3 separate regions of the Homo sapiens genome follow, and regions 2 and 3 are each linked to region 1. Evidence: promoter capture Hi-C in human tissues and cell types (Jung and others, 2019). All regions are on one chromosome and are shown on one strand. The core of a region is centred on a gene start or on the middle of the fragment in contact, and the rest is flanking DNA. Distances in the headings are between cores, read along the strand shown.

The links. Contacts are between HindIII fragments. The study calls those that stand out against the background at their distance.
Region 2: a contact is called between a fragment that was not itself captured here and the fragment with the promoter of ITGB8 in region 1, in 1 of the 25 tissues and cell types used here (lymphoblastoid cells).
Region 3: a contact is called between a fragment that was not itself captured here and the fragment with the promoter of ITGB8 in region 1, in 1 of the 25 tissues and cell types used here (lymphoblastoid cells).

What each region holds. Positions count from the first base shown.
Region 1 is chr7:20,327,800-20,332,149 of GRCh38, forward strand. It overlaps ITGB8 (integrin subunit beta 8), which reads left to right and starts at 3,101. Exons shown (of 14, transcript NM_002214.3): 1 at 3,101-4,134. The coding sequence starts at 4,008. It overlaps ITGB8-AS1 (ITGB8 antisense RNA 1), which reads right to left and starts at 3,963. Exons shown (of 3, transcript NR_110120.1): 1 at 3,851-3,963; 2 at 1,568-1,714; 3 at 502-1,057. RefSeq lists enhancers at 1,722-2,334, 2,422-2,491, 2,592-2,881 and silencers at 2,962-3,351, 3,822-4,061. The HindIII fragment of the contact is 8,908 bases long and covers 1-4,350 here.
Region 2 is chr7:19,984,040-19,988,950 of GRCh38, forward strand. The region is part of intron 3 of MACC1-OT1 (MACC1 3' UTR overlapping transcript 1); the gene reads right to left. Among named protein-coding and RNA genes, the nearest start is that of MACC1-OT1, 150 kb to the right of the region's middle. The HindIII fragment of the contact is 4,389 bases long and covers 431-4,819 here.
Region 3 is chr7:19,928,355-19,933,042 of GRCh38, forward strand. The region is part of intron 5 of MACC1-OT1 (MACC1 3' UTR overlapping transcript 1); the gene reads right to left. Among named protein-coding and RNA genes, the nearest start is that of TMEM196, 160 kb to the left of the region's middle. The HindIII fragment of the contact is 5,349 bases long and covers 1-3,933 here.

The DNA of each region.
Region 1 (4,350 bases), core at 1,851-4,350:
GAGATCAATAATTTGGGCACATCTAGTTAAAGTGTGAATAGCCACAGCTGTATGTGGTGTCTTACACCTATAATCCCAGCTACACAGAAGGCTGAGGTGGGAGGATAGCTTGAGTTCAAACTTGAACCAGGAGTTCAAGGCCAGTTTGGGCAACATAGTGAGATAGCAAGATTCCATTTCTTAAAAAACAGTCTGAGTGTCTCCCTCACTCCTGCTACCTATCTATAGCTTATTCATTCTCACCATAAACTCACTTAGTGAGAAATCAAGGTTAAAGGAGTAGGGAAGAAATTTAAGTAATTTAATTTTATGACTTTTTAGTAACTCAGCTCAAAGACTCTAATGATAGGAAGCCTGGAATGAATAACTAAAATGTTATTTTTAGACTATCTGTGAATTTCATTTCCTCTCATTACCACAAATGATGAAAAATTAGCTGTCAGAAATTTCAAAGCAATATAGCAGAACATGATGGAAAAACAAATTAATCAAGTCACCATCTTCCGAAACATTTTTCCTTTATTAGAATTCTTCAGGTAATATGACGAAGATAACAATACTGCATTTCTTTAAAATATGCTGTACATTTCCTCATAGGAAAAAGGGTGAGTTATGGTGACCAGTGACATTAACTGGAAACAAGCAAACTTTTGGTTCCTGGGCCACTAGTTGTATTTACTTTAAGAAAACCCTAAAGATGATTTGCAGTCTTTCAGAGAGTTTACTTTTATGTTTACAGCCCAAAATGTGCAGATAACTTGTTTGTAAATAACTGGCAGGGGTCACAGTGTCACATCTAGGAGATTTCATTTTATTTTATTTCGACAACCAGAGTTACAGCCTCTTTACAACTGAGAAGTGGTAATAAATGGTATTGTGCTTATTCTTCAACAACTCCATAGCACTGGCACCTGACATATATTTGCATGAATTTCATGTAACAAAATGTAGAAATCTTTCTTTCTAAAGGGCTTCAAAATTTCCCGAAACAGACTTCTGAACTTCATTTTATTCCTCTTGCTACATGGTTGTTCTGGATTAGTATATATATCAACACCTAAAAACAGAGTTACAAAAATTAGTGCATACCTCATCAATTTCATAAAGTTACATCCTTTCTTGTTTGCATACATTTATATTTTATTTATTACTGTAACTGCCACTTACAACCCAGCAACAAAGAGTTGTATTTTAGAATATTATGGAATGGTGATATGATAGACACTTTAAAGTGTATTGACATGTCCTTATGGGAATTAGGGATTTAATTTTTTTTTTTTTTGATTGAAGCACTGCATGTCTCAAGGGTGGCTGCATTCAGTAGGTCTGTGACATAACCCCTGGAAAATACCCAGGCTGCCCAATGGAAGAGTCACTAATCAGATATTGAATATGATATTTTTGTGTTCAAATTTTCAAGTCCTCACACCCATCCTAACTAATTTTTAGGCCTTTCCTTTAAGACAACCAAAAAACAAAACTATAACTGTTCAAACTTGGAACTAAGGAAAGGAAATAAATATTAAAGCGGAGCTGGATTTATTTCTATTTATTTAGAGTACATCACCTCCAGTAGAATTATGTTGCTAAGGTTGGGATCACGGCTTTGGTCTCGCGAAGGGACCTGCTTTGCAGATCCAGGGCTCGTTTAATTTTCCAGCTGGGTTCCTGCTTTGCTTAACTAATCCTGTGCACCCCGTTGTGCGGTCCACACCTGAAAGGGGGAGTTTCGATGTTGTGGTTTATTAACCAGGTACTTTCCATTCACTCAGTCAACAGAAAGAAAGAGAGAGACCGCGCCTCCTACTTTTTTTTTTTTTTTTTTTTTAACTACAAATAAGGAGACGGAAACTATTAAATAAGAAGGGGGGAAACTCCCGCATATTTCACCTTGACCTGGCTGGACTGGTCTGCTGCCTCTAAGAGGCGGGTGTTGTATTAAAATGAGAGGTCAAACTCCTCGAATGGGAATCGCTCCTGCCCCTAGAGGGAAAAGAGAACCATCACCGTGTTAAACTGGAAACACTGCCTTGTTTCCAATGCGGGGGACTGAGTTCCCTCCCTCGACTTAGCGTGGTAATGACAGGACCCGAGGAGGCGCGCTGCTTCCGGGCAGTTGCCCAGCATAACACCCGCACCCTACTTGCACCTAAATTTCTGAGCTGCAAGCAGGCAGAAGTGCCTTCCACTTTCTCTCCTTAGCTCCCCTCTCCCCGCTTTGCTGCTGTCTGTAACTTTTTGTTCCGTTTACTGGGAAGGTGACGCTTAAGATCAAAAGACCCACTGTAACTTGCAAAAGCCCAGAGCCACCACCAGACGCTGGGGAAAAACAGGGCTGTCCAGTCCAGGGTTAAGGTTTTGAGCAGAGAAGGAGCAGCGAGAAATCTCGGCCAGTCGCTCCGGGAACAGCCCCTGCAGACTGGTCCAACTCTCCAAAGGCTAGGGACACCGGGGCAGCCTTGTGGTGGGGTAGAGGACGAGCTCCTAACTGCAAGCAAAGTGCTGAGTAGAGGGCGTTGGGGGCAGGGGAGGTCCCTTGACTCCACTTTGTATGCAGCAGCTGCGGGGCAGTGAGTATCTCCGAACAAAGCGGCGAGCAGCGCGGGGGTGAGAGATTGGGGTTTGCTCGCAGCTGCCGCTGGCGCTGAGCGAGTCTCCCACCACCCCCGCGAGCGTTGGGGTGCAAGGATTCGGGGGAGGAGGGAGAAGGGAACGAGGCGTGCCATTCCTGTTGCGCGGCTACGCTTCAGGAGTTCTTGTGAACGATGGGAATGGCAACTATCAGAGCCAAGGGGGAAAAGAAAGAGCTGGAGTGAGCAAAACAAAGAGCGAGTGTGGGCCGCGGTGACTTCATGCCTCACCAATGTCCCGCCCACGCTGCTCCGAGCTGTTACTGCTGCTCCTGCCCGGGCTGCAGCCGCGCCTGCGGGCAGCCGAGGCGAGGCGCTCCGGTAGCGTGGGGAGGTTTCCTAGCAACTCTCTGCCCTGAGTGCACCCGGCTACCCGCAGGTCTGGAGCCCCCCGGGGGGCCAGAGCAGGACCACCCCTCTCCCGCCCATCGCCGGCCTCGCCTCTCTCGCATCCTAGCCGTGTGCACCCCAGAGCGCGCCAGCAACTCGGGCTCTGGACTGCGGGACGCCTGAGCCGCGCACTGAGGCGAAAAGGACAAGGGCACGCAGCCCCCGCCCCGCGAAGCCGGGCTCCGGCACCTCGCGGAACCTCCCCTCCTGCGCTCGCAGCCGCAGGCCCCACTCCCCGCCAGGGAGGGAGCGGCGATGCCTCGCTCTGTGCCTGCGGGTGTCGGCGGGTGCTTCTAGGGCGCTCCCAGAGCCGCCTCCCCCTGTTGCTGGCATCCCGAGCTTCCTCCCTTGCCAGCCAGGACGCTGCCGACTTGTCTTTGCCCGCTGCTCCGCAGACGGGGCTGCAAAGCTGCAACTAATGGTGTTGGCCTCCCTGCCCACCTGTGGAAGCAACTGCGCTGATTGATGCGCCACAGACTTTTTTCCCCTCGACCTCGCCGGCGTCCCCTCCCACAGATCCAGCATCACCCAGTGAATGTACATTAGGGTGGTTTCCCCCCCAGCTTCGGGCTTTGTTTGGGTTTGATTGTGTTTGGCTCTTCGCTAAGCTGATTTATGCAGCAGAAGCCCCACCGGCTGGAGAGAAACAAAAGCTCTTTTCTTTGTCCCGGAGCAGGCTGCGGAGCCCTTGCAGAGCCCTCTCTCCAGTCGCCGCCGGGGCCCTTGGCCGTCGAAGGAGGTGCTTCTCGCGGAGACCGCGGGACCCGCCGTGCCGAGCCGGGAGGGCCGCAGGGGCCCTGAGATGCCGAGCGGTGCCCGGGCCCGCTTACCTGCACCGCTTGCTCCGAGCCGCGGGGTCCGCCTGCTAGGCCTGCGGAAAACGTCCTAGCGACACTCGGCCCGCGGGCCCCGAGGTGCGCCCGGGAGGCGCGAGCCCGCGTCCGGAAGGCAGTCAGGCGGCGGGCGCGGGGCGGGCTGTTTTGCATTATGTGCGGCTCGGCCCTGGCTTTTTTTACCGCTGCATTTGTCTGCCTGCAAAACGACCGGCGAGGTCCCGCCTCGTTCCTCTGGGCAGCCTGGGTGTTTTCACTTGTTCTTGGACTGGGCCAAGGTGGTAAGTTGTTTTGTTTTGTTTTGTTTTCTTCTCTTCCCCAAAGGTCTTGGGCTGGCACGAAGAGCTGCCCGGCCAGAGCATCCCGGCCAGGTAAGTTGCGGTCATCAGAGAACTTCAAGGGGGCGGGTGCGGGGCAGCGTCCTCCAGCACAGATGGCCTAGAGGCCAGGTGTCAAGCATTTCTGCCCTGGAGCGACAGCAAGGACTAATTATCAGA
Region 2 (4,911 bases), core at 1,375-3,874, 340 kb before region 1:
CCTTCAAGGCAGTTTCTAGACAAACCCTCTGGCCCAAGGTTTGTCTAGAAATACCATCTGGGAGCTAGAGCCTGCACCAAGGGCCTCATGATTCTGATCTGTACCCTGTCTTTCTGTGGCTGAGCTGGTATTCAATAGGCAAGTCAAAGTCCTTCCCCCTCTTCCCTCTCCTCTCCTCAAACAGAAGGAAGGGGTCTCTTTGGATCCAAAGGCTGTGCAGACTGGGATTAGGGTACGGTGATGCCAGTACTCTCTTGGCTGCTCCAGCAGGTGGAGTACCTCAGTAGGTCCTGTGCCCCTCCCCCGCAGTCTACTGTCTTTGGGCCTAGTTTAGCACTAGCACTCACCTAAGGGTTGCAGTCCTTATGGCCTACACTGCCTTTCATGTTTAGTTGGAGACAGACCTCACCGTAGCCCTCAGTGGGAGGTTTGCAGGAACTCAAGTTCAGACTGCTGGGAGAGGTGATTACCCTCTGGGTAGAGCTGATTTAAATGCTCCCTCCATGGGCAGGTGTCAGCTGAGTTTGGCCAGGTTTTCCTTTCTGCTGTAATAGGATAGCACTGAGTCATTGCCTCACAATTGCTATGTTCTCCCTCCTCCAGCACCCAGAGATGCTCTCCTGAGGCCCAGACCACCACTGCCAGCCATGGAGGAGGAGTGGCGTTGGCGATTCAGGACTGCTTTTTCTGTCTCTTCAGTGCCTCTCTCAGCAACATGAAGGTAAAAACCAGGTACTGTGAGTGCTCACCTGATTTTTAGTTCTTGATGGTGTCTTTTCGTTGTAGATAATTGTTAAATTGGCATCCTTGAGAGGGGAACAATCAGTGGAAACTTCTAGTCTGCCATCTTCTTCCACCTCCCCTGATTTGATTTTTAATAGATTTATGTCTATCCCTTACATTTCTTTTGTAAGAATGTTTTCCTTTGTAACAAGAAATAACTATGTATTTGTTGAGAAATTGTGTCTTTTAAGGAATTGGCCTATTTTATCTAAGTTTTCCCAGTACTTTTAGTTCTGATATTAGTAATTAGTATCATCTCTATTCTTAGCTTTTCAATTTTTTCATCTTTTCAAAAAACCATCTTTTGGTTTTCTCTATTGATTTCTTGTTTTTAATTTCATTGATTTCTGCTCTAATTTTTATTATTTCTTTTCTTCTGCTTACTTTTGATTTTATTTACTCTTTCAAGTTTCCTAAGGTGGAAAACTAGAAATATCTTTCTCAATCCATTTACTTTTGCTATATGGAAGTAATTTCTCTAATGTTTGCAATATACCCTTACAGCTAATGCAAACCCACTTTCAAAGAGCATGCTATTGCTTCACAGGTAGTATGAATACCTTATATTTTAAAAAAATAATTAAAATGCCTTCCTCCCATTTCTTGTATCATAGCTGTCATTTACATCTAAGCATATATACTGTTCTTAGATACTGATATGGTTTGAATTTGTGTCCCCACACAAATCTCATGAGGAATTGTAATCCCCAATGTTGAAGGAAGGACCTGGTGGGTGGTGATTGGCTCAGAGGGGCCGATTTCTCCTTGCTTTTCTCATGATAGTGAGTGAGTTCTCATGAGATCTGGTTGTTTAAAAGTGTATAGCACCTCCCCCTTCTCCCTCTTCCTCCTGCTCTTGCCAGGTAAGACGTTCCAGCTTCCCCTTCACCATCCATCATTCTTGTAAGTTTCCCGAGGCCTCCTCAGAAGCAGAAGCCTGTACAGCCTGTAGAACCATAAGCCAATTAAACCTCTTTCCTTTATAAATTACCCAGTTTCAGGTATTTATTTGTAACAGTACAAGAACGAACTAATGCAGACACACACACACACACACACACACACAAAGATATATGTGTAAGCATACATAATGAAATACATTGTTGCTATTACTTTATGAACAAAATGTTATCTATTAGACCAACTAAGAATAAGAAAAATAAAAGCTTTTGTTTACCTTCATTTATTCCTTCTCTAATGCTCTTCCTTTTTTACGTAGATATGTGTTTCTGACCTATATCATTTTTCTTCTTTTCAAATAAATAACTTCTTTTAACAATTCTTGCAAGACAAGTCTACTGGCAACAAATTTATTCAATATTTATTTGTCTGAGAAAGGTTTTATTTCTCCTTCACTTTTTAAAATTGTGAAATAACACTTAACATGAGATCTGTTAACAATTTTTAAGTGTACACTACATAATTTTTGACTGTAGGTACAATATTGTAGAATAGATCTCTAGGCTTGTTTATGTTGCTTGAGTGAAAGTTTATATCTGTTGATTTCCAACTCCATTTCTCCATCCTCCAGCCCCTGGTTACCACCATTCCACACTTTGATTCAATGAATGTAACTATGTTAGTTACGTTACATAAATCATGCATTGTCTTTTTGTTACTGGCTTATTTTATTTAATATAATGTCTTTAGGTTGCATCCATGTTGTTGCATATTGCAGAATTTCTTTATTTTAAAAGGCTGAGTAGTATTCCATTGTATGTATATATCACATTTTCTGTATCCATTCATCTGCTGATGGCATTTAGACTATTTTTATTTCTTAGCTGTAATGAATAGTGCAACAATGAACACAGAAGTGTTAATATATCCACAAGATCATGATTTCAGATCCGGAATGGGATTTCTGGATCATATGGCAGTGCTATTTTTAAATTTTTGAGGAACCTTCTTACTATTTATAGCAGCTGCGCCATTTTGCATTCCCCTCAGCAGTACCATGCAAGGGTACCAATTTCTTTCCCTAGTATTGTTTCTTCTTCTACTTTTTTTAAGTAATAGTCATCCTGGTAGGTTTGATATAACACCTTATCATGGTTTTGATTTGCATTTACATTAAGATCAGAAACATTGAGTACTTTTTCATCTACCTCTTGGGCATTTACGTGTCTTTTTGGAGAAACGTCTATTTGAGTCCTTAGCCCACTCTCACTTCTACGAATTTTAATGTTTGGGATCTTACATTTAGGTCTTTAATCTGTTTAGAATAAAGTTTTGTGTACGGTGTGATATAAGGGTCCAGTTTCATTCTTTTGCATGTGGATTCCAGTTTTCTCAGTACCATTTATTGAAGAGACATTCTGTTTTTCATTGTGTATTTTGGCACCTTTCTGGAAAGTCAGTTGACTGTAAATATGTAGATTTGTTTCTAGGCTCTGTATGCTTTTCCATTGGTTTTTATGTCCATCTTTATGTCAGTGCATTCTGTTTAGATTACTGTAATTTGTAATGTATTTTAAAATCAGAAAATATGGTGTCTATGGTTTTATTCTGTTTGCTCAAGATTTATTTAGCTATTCAGAGACTTTTGTGGTTGCATGTGAATTTTAGAATTGTTTCTATATCTGTAAAAAAATACCATTGGGATTTGGTAGAGATTACTTTGGGTAGTGTGGACATTTTAACAATATCATGTTGTTCAATCCATGAAGATGGAAAGTCTTCATATTTGTTTTCTTCTGGTTTAATTTCTTTTATCAATGTTTTGTAGGTTTCAGTATATAAGTCTTTGACCTCCTTACTGAAGTTTATTCCTAGTTTATTCTTTTTGTGCTGTTTTAAATGGGATTTTCATAGTTCCCTCTTCAGATAGTTCATTGTTAGTATATAGAAGTGCAACTGATTTTTGTAAGTTGATTTTGTATCCTACAACTCTACTGAATTCATTCAATTTTTCTAACAGTTTCTAAAAGTTAACAGATTATACCATCTACACCAGGGAACATTTTACTTTTTCTTTCTTATTTGAATGACTTTTACTTCTTTTTCTTGCCTACTTGCTCTGGCTAGGACTTCCAGTAGTATGTTTAATAGAAACGGTAAAAGTGGGCATCCTTGTCTTGTTCTTGATATTGGAGGAAAAACTTTAAATTTTTCACTGTCAAGTATGATGTTAGCTGTGGGCTTATCATATTTGACCTTTATTATGTTGAGGTAATTTCTTACTTTTCGTAATGTGTTGAGAATTTCTATCATGAAAGCATAATTAATTTTGATAAGTGCCTTTTCTGCATTTATGATCCTGTAATTTTTATTTTTTATTATGTAATGTGCTATATTGATATTGTATAATAACATACATTAATTTTAAAAAGTTGAACCATCCTTATGTATCAGGTATAAATCCCAATAATCATAGTGTATGATTCTCTTAATGTTAGTATGATTCTCTTAATGTTATGTTGGACTCAGTTTGCTAGTATTTTATTGAGGAATTTTGTATTCAAATTTACCAAGGATCTTGGCTTTGTTTTCTTTTTTGTGATGCCTTTGTTTTCTTTTTTGTGATGCCTTTGTCTGGCATTGGTATAAAGGTAATGCTGGCCTGATAAAATGCATTTGAGTGTTCCTTGAGGTATGAAGTTAAATTGTTAATTAATATCCTTCCTCTTTATAATATAGTCATTCATTACTGTCAACTGCCCTCTTGGTACTGCTTTTGCTTCATTTCATTACTTTTGGTACGTTGTGCTTTTGTTTTTGTGGGGGAAGATAAAGCATTCTTATAGTTTATAAATCTGTGTGAGGGTTTGGGTACACCTGTGCTCTGGGACTGTGAACTTCGCCAGTGATTCTCAGTATTTTTTTTCCCTTAAGTGAGACAGAATGGCTAGAGGGTACTGGAGTTGGGTATTTCCCTTCCCCAGGTAAGTTAGACTCTGAAAAACAAACAAAACAACAAAACAAAACAAAACAAGGAAACAGCAGGTTAGGCTCTGGTAAAATAGTTTCTCTTGAATGCAGGCCTTTTTAAAGGACAGAATGCTATTGTGAATTCGAAATGTTTATTTTTTCCCTCCTTCATTGGAAGCCCTAGGAGATTTTTCTCAGATATTCACTATGAGAACCTGGTAAGGTTCCCGGAGGTAAGACTCAAAAAATTGTGGGGAT
Region 3 (4,688 bases), core at 9-2,508, 400 kb before region 1:
TTGCTGGAGGGGTGTGGGGAGATGTCCTGTTCACTGTAGATTGTTTAGTAGCATTGCTGTTTTAAAAATACTGGAAACAGTAATACAAACCTCCTACTACCACTACTGAGTCATCTTGTACCCTCTTTGAGAACAGTGACTCTAGTGAAACTTATAAATGAAACATAGCTGTAGTGGAAAAAAAAATTCAGAGATCACCTCAGAAAAGACTTTGAAATACCTAAGCCCTCCCTTCCAACAGATCTGATCATTTTTTTTGTGCTTCTGTCATATGTTAAAGCAACCTCTTTTATAAAAATTATTATACTGTTTGTCTTCATGGAACAAATATTTGTTCAATGCTTGAGCTAGCTAGCTCTGGTGAATCTAGTGTTCTGGTGTGTATTTCTTTCCAAAAAGAAATACAATGTTTCATAATATAATGTCATCCTGAAATCAACCATGGGGGTAGTATTAATGCCGTGGAAATTGGAAAATGCTGCAAATCGGGTTTTTGTTTTCCTTAGAGAGCTAATTATTAAACATTTAATAATACCCCTCATGCCTATTATATGCAACTCTTCTCTGAGTAGTGGGAACATATGAGAAAAGAAAGACGCCATGTCATCTAATAAGTTTTATTAACTGGATTGTGAACTCCTTGAAGAAAAGATTATTTTCTACTCATCTTCTAAAACGAGTACTAGCATAGTGATTGATTCATTGATGACACTCAAAAAAGTTAATAACAACATTTATTTGAGCATTCATTTAAATTATGAGTGTGGGATTTCTTCAAAGGACTTTCTTAAACGATGCTTTTGCTTCTGTTTATTTTTGAATCTAGAACTTTCTTACAACAGTTGGATGTTTCAGTGGTTAGTTTATTTTTATATTTCTAAAATTTAGTAATTCAGCAGGAAGGTTCTCTCAAGCTGCAGGAAGTTTTGCAGTTTAAGGCTATTCTGAGCTTTTCAACATGCTTTTTGTGATTTCTTACAATTACTTTGACCATTTCATTCAGCAGGGACTTTTGTAAAGTTAAGCTTTCTCTTTCATTCTCCTAACAATTACTCATCACTCCACGGTTTTTGCCTCATTTTTTCTTTTTCTTTCTTTTTTTTTCCTTGCTTTTCTTTTTCTTTACTTTTTTGGTGGTTCAGACTTTTATATCTGTACTATATATTGATTTTTAAAGCCCTTTTTATTAGAACATAAAATCAGCATATTTTTAGAGAAGTGATTACACATGGGAAGGAGAGGAAAAGAAAAAAAAAGGATTAAGTTTTAAGAATTTAGCTCTATCTATGATAATTTCATTAAAAAAAATCCTAAAACAAAAATGTCAATTCCTTAACTGTTGTTAAACTTATATGTCGAATAAAGAAGTGAATATTTTCTGGCTGGGCGCGGTGGCTCACGCCTGTAATCCCAGCGCTTTGGGAGGCCAAGGCGGGTGGATCACGAGGTCAGGAGATCGAGACGATCCTGGCTAACACGGTGAAACCGCGTCTCTACTAAAAATACAAAAAGTTAGCCAGGCGTCGTGGTGGGCGCCTGTAGTCCCAGCTGCTCGGGAGGCTGAGGCAGGAGAATGGCGGGAGCCCGGAAGGCGGAGCTTGCAGTGAGCCAAGATCGCACCATTGCACTCCAACCTGGGTGACAGAGAGAGATTCCATCTCAAAAAAAAAAAAAAAAGAAAAAAAAAAGTGAATGTTTTCTCTACTGTGTGTATGTTTAAAATGTTTTATAATTAAATATGAAATAATAAAGCATTGTGTTTAAAAATTAGATAATCTAGAAAACATAATGGAAGTAAGGATTGGCCAGAATACTAACACCCAGTGGTGATATCCCAAGTATGTATTAATAATAACCAGTGTGGCATGGGTACTGATCAGTCAGCAGGGATTTTAGATAACTTCTGCATGACTACATTCATGCATACTTCCTGATGCCTGTTCTGCCAGCAGCCACTGGAAACTACTGCCCATATTTTGTTTGTACCTTTATGGACTTTTTTGTGCATACCTTTATTTTTTACATTACATATTTGAATATAGGCATGCTTATTTTTTTCAGAAATTCCAGCACGTGGTTTTTTTTAATAATAATTTTTATGGTTGTAGTTCTTCACTTATCTATTGTTAGTATCTCCCACTGGATTCAAAACTTCAGAAAGTCAGGGCTCCAGTCTCTCCTGCTCACCATGATATATCTGGGACTTAGCCTAGTGCTTGTAATATGGAATACACAAAATATATATCATTAACTTTTTTAATATAAATAGATCTATAAGTACATTAGTATTTTTCTTGGTTGTATAGTATTCTATGTCCTGATATATCATAAATTATTGGATAATCTGTTGTTGGACATTTTGATTAATTTTTTTCTCCCTGTATTTCCCGGGAGACTTTCCTTGTGCTCTCTTTCATTGTGTAGATTTTTAAGGCAAAGAGAAAGAATAGAATTTAGAGGAGGCTGTTGAGAAAAATGAAGATGGTACTGTAACCTCTTTGAGATATAACAGCACATTAACTGATTCCTTTGTGGTGATGGATGTATTAATACTTTAAAACAGTAAAATCTTTGAGGATTTCTCAAGTCAAATGACCTAAGATTGACCAATTCTAAGAAATCTGAGAATGGCATAACCTCTGTGAAACTGGTCCTAGAAAGAACAACATAAAGGTAAAGCGATTGAGTCACCAAAAGTTTGTGATACTGTGAGTGACAGTATTGGAATTTATACCAGTCTTTTGGGTTTGTCCAGGGAACATGTAGCCAAGCAAAATAGCTTACAAGCAACGTTTTGTGAAATGAATCCAAGTTTCCTCATTAACTTTAGCTTTCTATTGGGATGAAAGTTTAAAAATATTCAATTCTATTTTTAAAAATACTTTTCCAAGAGAGTATCGACAAGTCTGTTCAAAAGGTTTAAGGTATGCTGAAATCGATGTTCCTGTGGGAAGAGGGAGCTTTATGTTAGTACTTCCTGAACTTCTCAGCATGTTCCTTCTATATCCTCTCAGCTGTTGACCTTACAAGACAGTCTTTAAGTGTATACATTTGCTAGAAACGTCCTAAATCCACAAAATATGGTCTTGATTAATTTCATACATAAACATACTCTCATGTAGGATTAATTAATGTCTTCACTGTTAGAAAAAACAGATCCCAATATGTGACTAAGGACCAATGTGGGCAACACACAGTCCTGATTTACTTCAAGTTAAGCATCAAGATACAACAATAAAATCTCATATGGAAATATTGTAGATTACTTTACTGGAGAATGATTTGATTGGCAATGAACCCCTTAGTGCCTATAATAATTGAATAAGTCTGTTCTCACACTGCAAATAAAGACATACCCAAAACTGGGTAATTTATAAAGAAAAAGAGGTTTAATGGACTTATAGCTCCACATGGCTAGGGAGGCCTCACACTCATGGTGGAAGGTGAAGGAAGAGCAAGGACACATTTTACATGGCAGCAGGCAAGAGAGTTTGTGTGTGGGAAGTGCCCTTTATAAAACCATCAGATCTTGTGAGACTTATTCCCTATCACAAGAAGAGCACGGGAAAAGCCCGCCCCTATAATTCAATTACCTCCCACTCGGTCCCTCTCATGATATGTGGGGATTATGGGAACTACAATCCAATATGAGATTTGGGTGGGGACACAGCCAAACCATATCAATACTTAAAAATACAGGAAGAGGTGGGCTGGGCTCAGTGGCTCATGCCTGTAATCCCAGCACTTGGGAAGGCTGAGGCGGGTGGATCACGAGGTTAGGAGTTCTTGATCAGCCTGACCAACATGGTGAAACCTCATCTCTACTAAAAATACAAAAATTTGCCAGGTGTGGTGGCATGCGCCTGTAATCCCAGCTACTCAGGAGGCTGAGGCAGGAGAATCACTTGAACTCAGGAGGCGGAGGTTGCAGTGAGCTGAGATGGTGCCACTGCACTCCAGCCTAGCGATAGAGCAAGAATCCCTCTCAAAACAAAACAAAAAAAAATACAGGAAGAGGTAAAAGGGATTCCAGAGTATTTTTTTTATTTATTCCCTAAGAAGAGTGACTATGCAAATACTTATGGTGTTCAATGTTCAGTTATTATAGAAATATTCACGCCCTAAAGATTGCATTATAGCACACAAAAGCTGTCGCTGTCTCCTAGGAGTAGTGAAATGGCATCCTTAGGACATGGATAGAAACACAAATCTTGTTTGAGTGAAGGGATCTACAGTCCACAACAGCTATTACTCACTCACTAAACCAATTTCCAATATAATATATGCAATTAAAAAAGTCAAAGGTGGGATAATCTTAGTAAATATAACCAAAATGAAATCATATCACTACTGTGTACAAAAGTGTCATTAGTAAAACAATTGCAGGGAAAGGGAGTCCTTGAGGACTTCCTGGTGGCTAAAATTTCAATCAATCAAATGAGCTTTTCTTATATTCACTCACGATAGACAGTCTAATCTAACTTTGATGTACATCAGGAACAGAACCATAAGTTATTGGTCTCCTTTAGTTTTGAATTTGATATCTTCCACTACCTAGATTTAGGTATCCATGAATGTAAATCATATGTTCCTGAAGGCCCTGGAGCACACGCAGAATTCACCTGGTAAATACTGCTAAATGTTTTCAGGGCCCTTCCATCCAGCTGGCGTGAAAATTCACCATCTGC